Regions from separate parts of the Homo sapiens genome. Here all the other regions are linked to region 2. The links are contacts of gene promoters, found by promoter capture Hi-C in blood cells and fetal thymus (Javierre and others, 2016). All regions are on one chromosome and are shown on one strand. The core of a region is centred on a gene start or on the middle of the fragment in contact, and the rest is flanking DNA. Distances in the headings are between cores, read along the strand shown.

What was found. Contacts are between HindIII fragments. The CHiCAGO score rates a contact against its expected background, and 5 or more counts as called.
Region 1: a contact is called between a fragment that was not itself captured here and the fragment with the promoter of GET1 in region 2, in 1 of 17 cell types (total CD8 T cells). The highest score is 5.6, in total CD8 T cells.
Region 3: a fragment that was not itself captured here is called in contact with the fragment with the promoter of GET1 in region 2 in 1 of 17 cell types (naive CD8 T cells); the score reaches 5.0 in naive CD8 T cells.

What each region holds. Positions count from the first base shown.
Region 1 is chr21:38,776,087-38,779,577 of GRCh38, forward strand. No RefSeq gene overlaps it. Among named protein-coding and RNA genes, the nearest start is that of LINC00114, 4.4 kb to the left of the region's middle. The HindIII fragment of the contact is 978 bases long and covers 1,592-2,569 here.
Region 2 is chr21:39,378,758-39,382,092 of GRCh38, forward strand. GET1 (guided entry of tail-anchored proteins factor 1) reads left to right here and starts at 1,569. Exons shown (of 5, transcript NM_004627.6): 1 at 1,569-1,729. The coding sequence starts at 1,628. GET1-SH3BGR (GET1-SH3BGR readthrough) reads left to right here and starts at 1,569. Exons shown (of 14, transcript NR_146618.2): 1 at 1,569-1,729. The HindIII fragment of the contact is 3,691 bases long and covers 1-1,856 here.
Region 3 is chr21:38,759,721-38,763,366 of GRCh38, forward strand. All of the region lies in intron 1 of LINC00114 (long intergenic non-protein coding RNA 114), which reads right to left. Among named protein-coding and RNA genes, the nearest start is that of LINC00114, 12 kb to the right of the region's middle. The HindIII fragment of the contact is 1,211 bases long and covers 764-1,974 here.

The sequences.
Region 1 (3,491 bases), core at 831-3,330, 600 kb before region 2:
TGGTGTGTCTGCATTTATTTGATTACTAACATCATATGAATTCCCCATCACTCTTTATTCTTGAAGTAAAATAATGCATTTCCCTTAAATTTATTTAATCCATCCAGCAATTCCTGACTATGCAGCCAGCTCTACTCCAGGGAAGAGAAGGCTCAGTCTCTCCCTTCAAAGAGGTAAGATAGACACATTAAAAAGTTAACAGGATATTGTTACATGTTACAATGAATGGGAAGGACCTTGTGAAGAAGAAGACATGAGCTCCAATCTGGAGGGCTTCCCAGAGGAAGTGGGCTTCCAGGGGCCCTGAAAGATGCTAAGAACTTAGAAGAGTCAAGAGAGAAGTTAGGACATTAGGAGAGAATTCTAGAGGCCAGGATGAATGTGGGGAAGGATGGCGAGAAAACCAGCTTGGTTGGAGTAGAAACTTCCACTGGGGAATGGACAAGAAGGGCTCGAGGGGAAGAAGAGTAAGAGCCAGTCTTGGAGGGTGTGGTAGGTGGAATAATGGCCCTCCAAGGGTATCCAAGTCCTAATCCCTGAAACCTGTAAATATGTGGCCTTACATGGTCAAAGGGACTTTGCAGATGTGATTAAATGCAGGACCTCGAGGTGGGGAGATGATCCTAGATTATTCAGATGTTCCCAAAATGTAATCACAAGCATCTTTAGAAGGGAGAGACAAGTCTCAGACTCAAAGAGAGAGATGAGGTAATGAAAGCAGAGGTTGGGGAGAGAGAGTTCAAGATGCTATACTGCTTGAAGATGAAGGGGGGCCCTGAGCCAAAGGATGCAGGTACCTGTAGAAGCTGGGAAGGGCAAAGAAATGAATTCTCTGCTGGAGCCTCCAGAAGGCATGCAGCCTTGCAGATACCTTGCTTTTAGGAATTCTGACCTCTAAAATTGTAAGATCATATATTTGTGTTGTTTTAAACCACTATGCTTGTTGTCATTTGTTACCATGGCCAGAAGAAATGAATGCAGACAATTTCAAATTTGAAGCTGATGAGACTTTAACCTGCCAAAAAATCAGAGTCTTGGACTCAGAAGGTCTTTCAACAGAGTCATGAAATCAGTCATTCTTCATGTGTGTGTAGTGTGAGCTCTCCTTAAGTGCCACAAAACACATCCTTGCCCATATTGGTCCCCAAGAACCCCAGCGTGGATGACAGTGCATCACACAGATGAAACTGGTAGAGTATTTTCTGGATGAATGAGCAAATAAGCAGTAAATGCTGCAATCTCTCTCTGGTTGAAGTCCTCAATTCCTCTTGCCTGAACCATTTCAATATCCACCTCATAAGCCTCCAGGCTCCAATCTTGTCTCCATTCCAACCTGCTGCCAGGGTCTTCCTCTCATGCAAGTGGTTATGTACATTTCATCCAAATAAAATTCAAATTCCTTAAAATAGCATATAGCTCTTTTTGGCTTCCCTGGGCAACATCAGAAGAAGAATTGTCTTGGATCACATGTAAAATATATTAACACTAACAACGGCTGATGAGCTAAAAAAAAAATAGTCACACAAAAAAATATCATAATATCTTAAAAAAGTATTGGGCCACATGTGGTCTGTGTGCTGTGGGTTGGACAAGCTTGGTCGAAAGCCTTCTATGGCCTCAGTCTATCACTCGAGCAGAAACCACCAACACCCACATGCTTTCCTGTCTGCGTTGGCAGAACTTCACTATTAAGTTGCCCTCTCTAATATGACTTTACTATTCTAAGAAATCGTTGCCCAGGAAATAAAAGTTACTAATTGTATTGTTTCAGGAACTTCCCAGAAAAACTAATTTAAGTGATTATCAAACTACTCAACTCTTCAATAACTAGTATCAAGGATTATTTACTCTCCAATACACTTCTGAGAACCCTGCCTTAAAACCCTCACCTTGCTGTCTTCACCAATCCTGAACCATTATATCATGATCCTTAATCCTATTCAAACTTCTTTCCCCATTGAAAGACCTGCCAAACCCCCTAAACCTTACAAATAGCCCAACTTTGTCATACTCACAGAAAATACTATGCAGACTTTGTTGAGATAGTTGTGTTGCTTACCATGGGAAGCAGTAAACTCAGCTTTGCCTGACCAGCAGGTTGTTGGGGTGATGTTTTTGGGGAGTCAGTACTGGACACCTAAGTAAACTTGTTACTTCATGCTTCCCTCTTCTAGAAGGCAGAATAATGGCTGTCCAAAGATGTCCACATCTTAATCTTAGGAACCTGTAAATATATTTCCTTACATAGCAAGGGGGAATTAAGGTAGCAGATAGATTTAATGTTGCTAATCGGCTGACTTTGAAATGATGAGATCATTGATACAGCTTGAATATATGTCCCTGTCAAATCTCATGTTGAATTGTAATCCCCAGTGTTGGAAATGGGGCCTGGTGGGAGGTGATTGGGTCATGGGGGCGGATCCTTCATGGCTTGGTGCTGTTGTGATAATGAGTGAATTCTCAGGAGATCTGGTTTTTAAGTGTGTGGCACCTTCCCCCTACTTGCTCTCTCTTGCCCTCATTCTCACCATATGAGATGCCTGCTCCATCTTCTTCCACCCTGATTGGAAGCTTCCTGAGGCCTCCCCAGAAGCCAACCAGATACAGTCACTATGCTTCCTACATAGCCTGCAGAACCGTGAGCCAAATAAACCTCTTTTCTTTATAAATTACCCAGGCTTAGGTATTTCTTTAGAGCAATGCAAGAATGGCCTAATACAATTATCCTAGATTCTCCAGGTGGGAACCCATGTAAACACAAGGATCTTTACATGTGGAAGGGGGAAACTGAAAGAGTCAGTGTCAAATCGATGAGATGCAGGAAAGACTCAACCAACCGTTGCTGGCATTGAAGATGGAGGATGGGGCCACAAGCCAAGGAATGGGCAGCCTTAGAAGCTGAAAAAGGCAAGAAATGCATTTCTACCTGGAGCCTCCAGAAAGGAATGCAACCCTGCCAACACCTAGATTTTAGCCTGGCAAGATCTGTATTAGACCTCTGACCTCCAGAACTGTAAGATAATCTTGTGTTGTTTTAACCCAGCAAATGTCTGTTCATTTGTTTTGGCAGCAGTAGAAAACCAGCATATCTCTCCTTGCTGATGCTCCTTTCTCCATCTGAAATCTCAATCTGATCTCACTCTTCTGCCTGTTGAAATCCTGCCTACCCTTTCATTTCAATGGCAGATCCACCTCCTCCAAGATACACTTCCCTGAACACCCCTTTTCTGAATTCTATCAGCATCTGGTTTGTTCTCCTTCATTATTTATTATTTTTATTTTTTTCAGATGGAGTTTTGCTCTTGTTGCCCAGGCTGGAGTGCAATGGTGCGATATCGGCTCACTGCAATGTCTGCCTCCCAGGTTCAAGCGATTCTCCTGCCTCAGCCTCTCGAGTAGCTGGGATTACAGGCATGCACTACCATGCCCGGCTAATTTTGTATTTTTTTAGTAGAGACAGGGTTTCTCCATTTTGGTCAGGATAGACTCAA
Region 2 (3,335 bases), core at 319-2,818:
GCAATGGTGCGATCTCAACTCACTGCAACCTCCGCCTCCCAGGTTCAAGCGATTCTCCTTCTTCTGCCTCCTGAGTAGCTGGGACTACAGGTGCCCGCCACCACACCCAGCTAATTTTTGTATTTTTAATAGAGACAGGGTTTTGCCATGTTGGTCAGGCTGGTCTCGAACTCCTGACCTTAGGTGGTCCACCTGCCTCGGCTTCCCAGAGTGCTGGGATTACAGGCTTGAGCCACTGTGCCCAGCCGCATAATTATTTTAACTGGTTCATAATAATGAGCCAGAGTTGTGCTCTGTCGCCCAGGCTGGAGTCCAGTGGTGTGATCACAGCTCACTGCAGCCTCGACCTCCCAGGCTCAGGCGATCCTCTCATCTCAGCCTCCCTAGTAGCTGAGGCCACAGGCACGTGCCACAGTGCCCGGCTAATTTTTATATTTTATTGTAGAGATGGGGATCTCACTATGTTACCCAGACTGGTTTCAAACTCCTGGGCCTGTGATCCACCTTGCTTGGATCTCCCAAAGTGCTGGGATTACAGGCGTGAGCCAGTGTACCCGCAATCTTGCATCATTTTGATTAGGAATTAGTCCTCAGAAACCAGTCATGGCAGCATGGCAGAAGAGACAGTTGAACATGTCTTGCTTTATCCACTAGGCATACTTTTTTTTTTTTTTGAGACGGAGTCTCGCTCTGTCGCCAGAGCTGGAGTGCAGTGGCGCGATCTTGGCTAACTGCAACCTCCGTCTTCCGGGTTCAAGCGATTCTCCTGCCTCAGCCTCCGGAGTAGCTGGGACTACAGGCGCGCGCCACCACGCCCGGCTAATTTTTGTATCGTAGAGACGGGGTTTCACCATGTTGGCCAGGCTGGTTTCAATCTCTTGACCTCATGACCTGCCCGCCTCGGCCTCTCAAAGTGCTGGGATTACAGGCGTGAGCCACCTCGCCCTGCTCACTTTGCATACATTTGAGTTGGGATTCTTTCGCTGCAAAACCTGATCTTCACCTAGATTCAGGTTAATTTATTAACTATTACTAATGATTGTGAACAGTGCATTCTATTAAACTTATTTTTCAGGTATGCAGTTGTGTAAATTGGTTAGACTTACTACAGTGTTTAGATCTGGAACGAAAACGTAAGGCATTTTCCATGTAACTGCTTGGAACACGACAGTTACCTGCTACTATAAAAACGGTAGTTTTCTATTTATGGAAGAGTTTTTCTTAAACTTATCTAGAATTAAAAGTTAATTTAAAGAAAGTACTAATTATGACAAAAGCAGGGAGTCGTTAGCACTTGAAACCAGAGTTTGGTACTATGAGAAGGTTTTTAATTTTAAAAAGAAGGAAAAAAAGAAACACGGACGTCAGAAAACTGGTTCAGTAGGGATGGGTGCTAGAAGGCTACGGAACCGCCGAAGGCCCAGGAGAAACCCGGAACGTGTTAACCGCTCCAACTGGAGCCGGACGAAAAAACGGCCCCGCCTCCCGCGAGGGCGACGCAGTTCGCAGGCGCGTCGGCGCGCCTGTTCTGGGGCGCTTGGCTTCACCGCGCAGGCGCGGTCGCCGCTGTTGTTGTGGTCCCCATGGAGCTGCCGTAGCGGACCCAGCACAGCCAGGAGCGTCCGGGATGAGCTCAGCCGCGGCCGACCACTGGGCGTGGTTGCTGGTGCTCAGCTTCGTGTTTGGATGCAATGTTCTTAGGATCCTCCTCCCGTCCTTCTCATCCTTCGTAAGTGGCTGCCTGGCCTCCCAAGGGCCGGTGGGGATGCCGCCCCAGTCCCCCGGCGGGTCTGGCGTAGGTACAGGGGTCTCAACTGGGCGACTGAAGGCCGTAGTAGCGTCTTGGTTGGTCCGTAAGCTTTTTTGAGATAGTTGTTAGCGTCTAAAAGGTACGACGCTTTACCCCAAAATCAGACTTTCTGGGTTCTAGGGGGTTGGGAGAAACACCGGGCAACCCTGGACTCTTCTGGCTGTGGGTGGCGGCGGCGAACCTCACACTGGGAGTTCCTAGTGCCCCGCTGTCAGCCTCGTTTCCGTTAATCCTGGTTCCTAGAGGCATTCGAGCAGCCCTCGGCCAGGGTTTCCCAGAGGCCTGGCGGGCGAAGTCAGCTGTTCCAGGTCCCGGAGAGATGGATCCTCGCGTCCAGGAGCCCACATTCTTGGGGTGGGTAGGGTGGGAGACAGGTGTAGAGAGAATCTCAGTACAGCGTGATGCCTTCAGTATCCAAGGGAGCAACCAGGTTGGGGAACACTCTCTTTCTGCCAGGTAGTGAGTACATTACCTCTGTCTCACGGCTGCTGGGAGAGGCGAGTATTATCATCCCACCCTCCTTTACCTCCCGGAGGAGTCTGGCTCAAGAGAATTTAGTGGTGGCACTAAGTCATCCACCTAGTGACTGGAGGTGGAGATTTGATTGCCTTTTGGAGCAGGGATAGGGATTTGGTGGCAAATTGGACAGGGCGTGGTGGGGTGTGGCCATGGAAGGCGGGGGTACCTTGGGAACTGTCCCCGAGAATGAGCGCCCTCCGTATGCCCACAGCAGAAATGAGGAGCTGTTGGGCAAAGGCGGAGTCCTCAAAGATTGGGCGCATTCGTTTCAGCGTTGTCTTGGAAAACAGTTCTTGCTTTTCTCTCCTAAGATAAATTGGTAGTAGTGGAGGATATTTTATTCCACCAGTATTCATTGAGTGCCTGTTTTGTGCAAAACTCTATTCTTACTCTCTCAATTGTCCTACTGTCTGCATTGTCCTGAGATATAGGGAATTCTCTTTTAACCCCTGAGTCTCCTTCAGAATCTTTCCTGATGCTATCCAGTCTTTAAGATGATGTCTCAGGCATTGCATAAAAGACTCCTGATGAGCTGGCCCATGCTCATCTTCTTGTTTTTAATTGTAAAATACACATAATATGAAGTTTATCATCTTTATCATTTTTAGGTGTACAGTTCAGTGGCATTAAGTACATTCACATTTTTGTGCAACCATTATCCCAGAACTTTATTATTATTATTTTAAGACAGGGTCTGGCTCTGTGCAGTGGTGTAATCTCGACTCATTGCAACCTCTGCCTCCCAGGTTCAAGTGATCCTCCCACCTCAGCCTCCCAAGTAGCTGGGACCACAGGCATGCACCACCACGCCCAGGTATTTTTTTGTATTTTTAGTAGAGACAGAGCTTTGCCATGTTGGCCAGGCTGGTCTCAAACTCCTGACCTCAAGCCATCCACCCATCCTGGCCTCCCAAAGTGCTGGGATTACAGGTGTGAACCACTGCACGTGGCCCCGCTCCCAGAACATTTTCTTTTTTTTTTTTTTTGAGACAGAGTCTCACTCTGT
Region 3 (3,646 bases), core at 119-2,618, 620 kb before region 2:
GCCTCTGACTATCTAATAACTCATCATTAAACACCACATTCCCTGAGAGGCTGTGGAGACCAGGCAGGGAGGGCCTCTCCCTTCTGAAAAAAGGAGCCCCTTCCAGGGCTCACAACAAAATGTCAAGTTTGGCAAAAGATAAAAATAGAAGTCTTTGTTTCACACTTGCAAAAAGGCTCAAACTTTCACGTGTGCTTCTGTTTATATTAAATAAAAAGCCCATTTTTCTTGGGATAAAAGCATCTTAAGAAGAGTTGTAGGGAGAAGAGACTAGGTCCTTTCTTAACCGGAATTCAACTGATTAGACCCTGGCCAGACTCTCCAGTCAGACCCAGAAAGAGAAAACAGTGCCAATCCGAATGATTCAGCTCAATCCGTTCAAAACAACAAATCATGAAATGGCATCATGGACAGGCATGTTACGATAAGACTCTGCTAACGTGGCTTTTGCTGCAAAGTGGGAAATGGTTCTGGGAACTTACAGCTTTAATAAGATCAAACAATGCATCAAATGGAGGTCTGAGTTGGAGATCTGGGCTTCGACCTGCAGAAATAAGAATTGAGGCCTGTTGGGTGCTTCGCTGCTGGCAGTGCTCTCTCACGTGCCCTTTCCAGCTGGCTCTCACCTGATTCTCAGACACCTCTGAGAGCTAGGTGGTGTTCTCGTGTACATGTTAGAGATGAGGAAACCCAATCTCTGACAGCTGTCTATCCACCTGTTTGGAAGGGGCTGAACTGTGTTCCCCCCAAGCTCATCTGTTGAAGCTTTAACCCCCAGTACTTCAAAGCATGTCTTTATTCAGAGATAGTCTTTCAAGAGATAATTAAGATGCAGTGAAGTCATTAGCGTGGGCCCTAATCCGATCTGACTGGTGTCCTAACAGGAAGAGGAGATTAGAACACAGACATGACCATGTAAGGACACAGGGAGAAGGCGGCCGTCTGTAAGCCAAGGAGGGAGGCTCAGAAGGAACGAACCCTGCTCACACCTGGATCCCAGACTTCTAGCTTCCAGGACGGAGAAAATAAATGTTGTTGAAGCCGCCTACCCTATGGTACTTTATTATGGAAGCCCTAGCACACTAATACATTAAGGTAAGTTCTCTGAGGGCAGAATGGGGCTTTTGCTATTTCGATGAAAGTTCTTCGGATTCTGCAAAGCTGACCTCATATTCTGTGATGATTTTGGTAGAAGGCACACAGGCCACCTGCTCACTCCCTGCTCCTCTCATTCCTCCTCACTTTCCCTCCTATTTTCATCATCTTCCCTCTCCCTTTCTCCTTCTTTCACTCCAGGGGGATATGTTTGCCAACCATCTGCAAAGTGCCTACTGTGTTTCACGTAAACGCTTTTAATTTACGTAACTCATGCTATTTATCTCGTCATGATTTGACTCTTTTCCTTTTGGATAGTTTTCAAGATCAATCCTTGTTGCAAGATGAATATTTAACCTGTTACTTTTTTTTTTGGAGACAAGGTCTCGCTCTGTCGCTCAGGCAGGATTGCAGTGGCATGAACACAGCTCACTGCAGCCTCAAACTCCTGGGCTCAGGTGATCCTCCCACCTCAGCCTCGCGAGTAGCTGGGACTACAGGCATGCACCACCTCACACAGCTAATTTTATTTATTTTTCTAATAGAGATGGGGTCTTGCTATGTTGCCCAGGCTGGTCTTGAACTCCTGGCCTCAAGCAATTCTCCCACCTCAGTCTCCCAAAGAACTGGGATTACAGGTGTGGGCCACCACGCCTGGCCTAACCTGTAACTTCTAATTGACACCTCAACATTTCCGAAAATGCCTTTATTCTGCCTGTGCACTGGATTGATAGTTTCTATAGGTGTAGAAGCCCAGGTCGAAAACCACCTTCCTGCAGAAAGCCCCATCCTCTTGTCATTCCCAGAGCGGCTGCAGGGAAAGCTACAGCCATTCTGAGTCCTGAGTCTTCATGTGTTGCCTTTTTTCTTCTCCCTGGAAGCTTGTAAAATCTTCTTCCTGTCCTCACTGCTCTGAAATTGCACAGCAACGAGGCTTCGTGTAGGTCTATTTTTATCTCTTGTACTAGGCCCTTTAGACCTGCAAGCTGGTGTTATTCATTTCTGGAAAAGTTTCTTGAATTGTATTTTAAAGACTTACCAGCTTCTCTGTTCTCTCCTCCTGGAATTCATCTGGAAGCTGCATTTCCTGGTCTGGGCCTCCAATTTCATACATTCTCTCCCTTTTCTTCTCTCTTTTCACTTTGCTCTATTTTCTAATACAATTTTCCAGCCATGCCTTCTAATCCTTGTACTGGGTCTTTCATTTTGGCTATCATGTGACTTTCCCCAAGCTTGCCCAGTGCTTGTTATTTTCCAAATGTTGCTTTTTTATGGTCTCTCACTTTTTTTTTTTTTCTTTTGAGACAGAGTCTTGCTCTGTCGCCCAGGCTGGAGTGCAGTGGCGCGATCTCGCTCACTGCGAGCTCCGCCTCCCGGGTTCACGCCATTCTCCTGCCTCAGCCTCCTGAGTAGCTGGGACTACAGGCGCCCACCACCACGCCCGGCTAATTTTTTGTATTTTTAGTAGAGACGGGTTTCACCGTGTTAGCTAGGATGGTCTCGATCTCCTGTATGGTCTCTCATTCTTGATGCATAGAAGAAAACTCATCTCATCTCTCTAAAGGTGTTAACAGTAGGTGTAGTCTTGGTTTCCTCCAGGTTTCTTTTGACTTTTATTTTTACTGAGATACAGTTCACATAAGATGAAATTTGGCCTTCTTAAGGATATTCACACAGCTGTGCAACCACCACTATCATTTATCCCAGCCTATTTTTATCACCTTAATAAGAAGCTCCATACCTGTTAATATTCATCCCCCATCTCCACCTCTCCCCAGCCCCTGGGAAGCACTAATCCATTTTTCCATGTCTATAGATTTGTCTATTCTGGAAATTTCATATAAATGACATAATACAACTTCTGGTCTTTTTTTTTTTTTTTAAGATGGAATGTTGCTCTTGTTGCCCAGACTGGAGTACAGTGGCGTGGTCTCAGCTCACTGCAGCCTCCACCTCCTGGGTTCAAGCAATTCTCCTGCCTCAGCCTCCTGAGTAGCTGGGATTACAGGCATCCATTACCATGCCCGCCTAATTTTTTGTATTTTTAGTAGAGATGGGGTCTCACCATGTTGGCCAGGCTGGTCTCAAACTCCTGGCCTCAGGTGATCCGCCCGCCTCAGCCTCCCAAAGTGCTGGGATTACAGGCATGAGCCACTGCGCCTAGCCAATTTCTGGTCTTTTGTGTCTGGCCTTCTTCACTTAGTATAGTGTTTTCAAGGTTCATCCATGTTGTAGCCTGTGTCAGTACTTCATTCCTTTTTAAGGCTGAATAATGGTCCATGGTACGAAGAGACCACATGTTGCTTATTCATGCATCTCTGGACAGACGCCTGGGTTGTTTTCCACCTGTTGGCTGTTGTGGATCGTGCTGCTGTGAACACGGGCGCACAAACTCAATGCGGATTTGACTTGTGCTTCCCTGGTAGCTAATGGTAACAATACTCAATATCTTTTCACGGGCTTATTAGCCCAAATTGTTTTATAACTTTTTCATGTGCTTTTACCTTTCACATTTGTTACCTCCAGCAGGTCCTTAGTGGTCAGCCAGTCC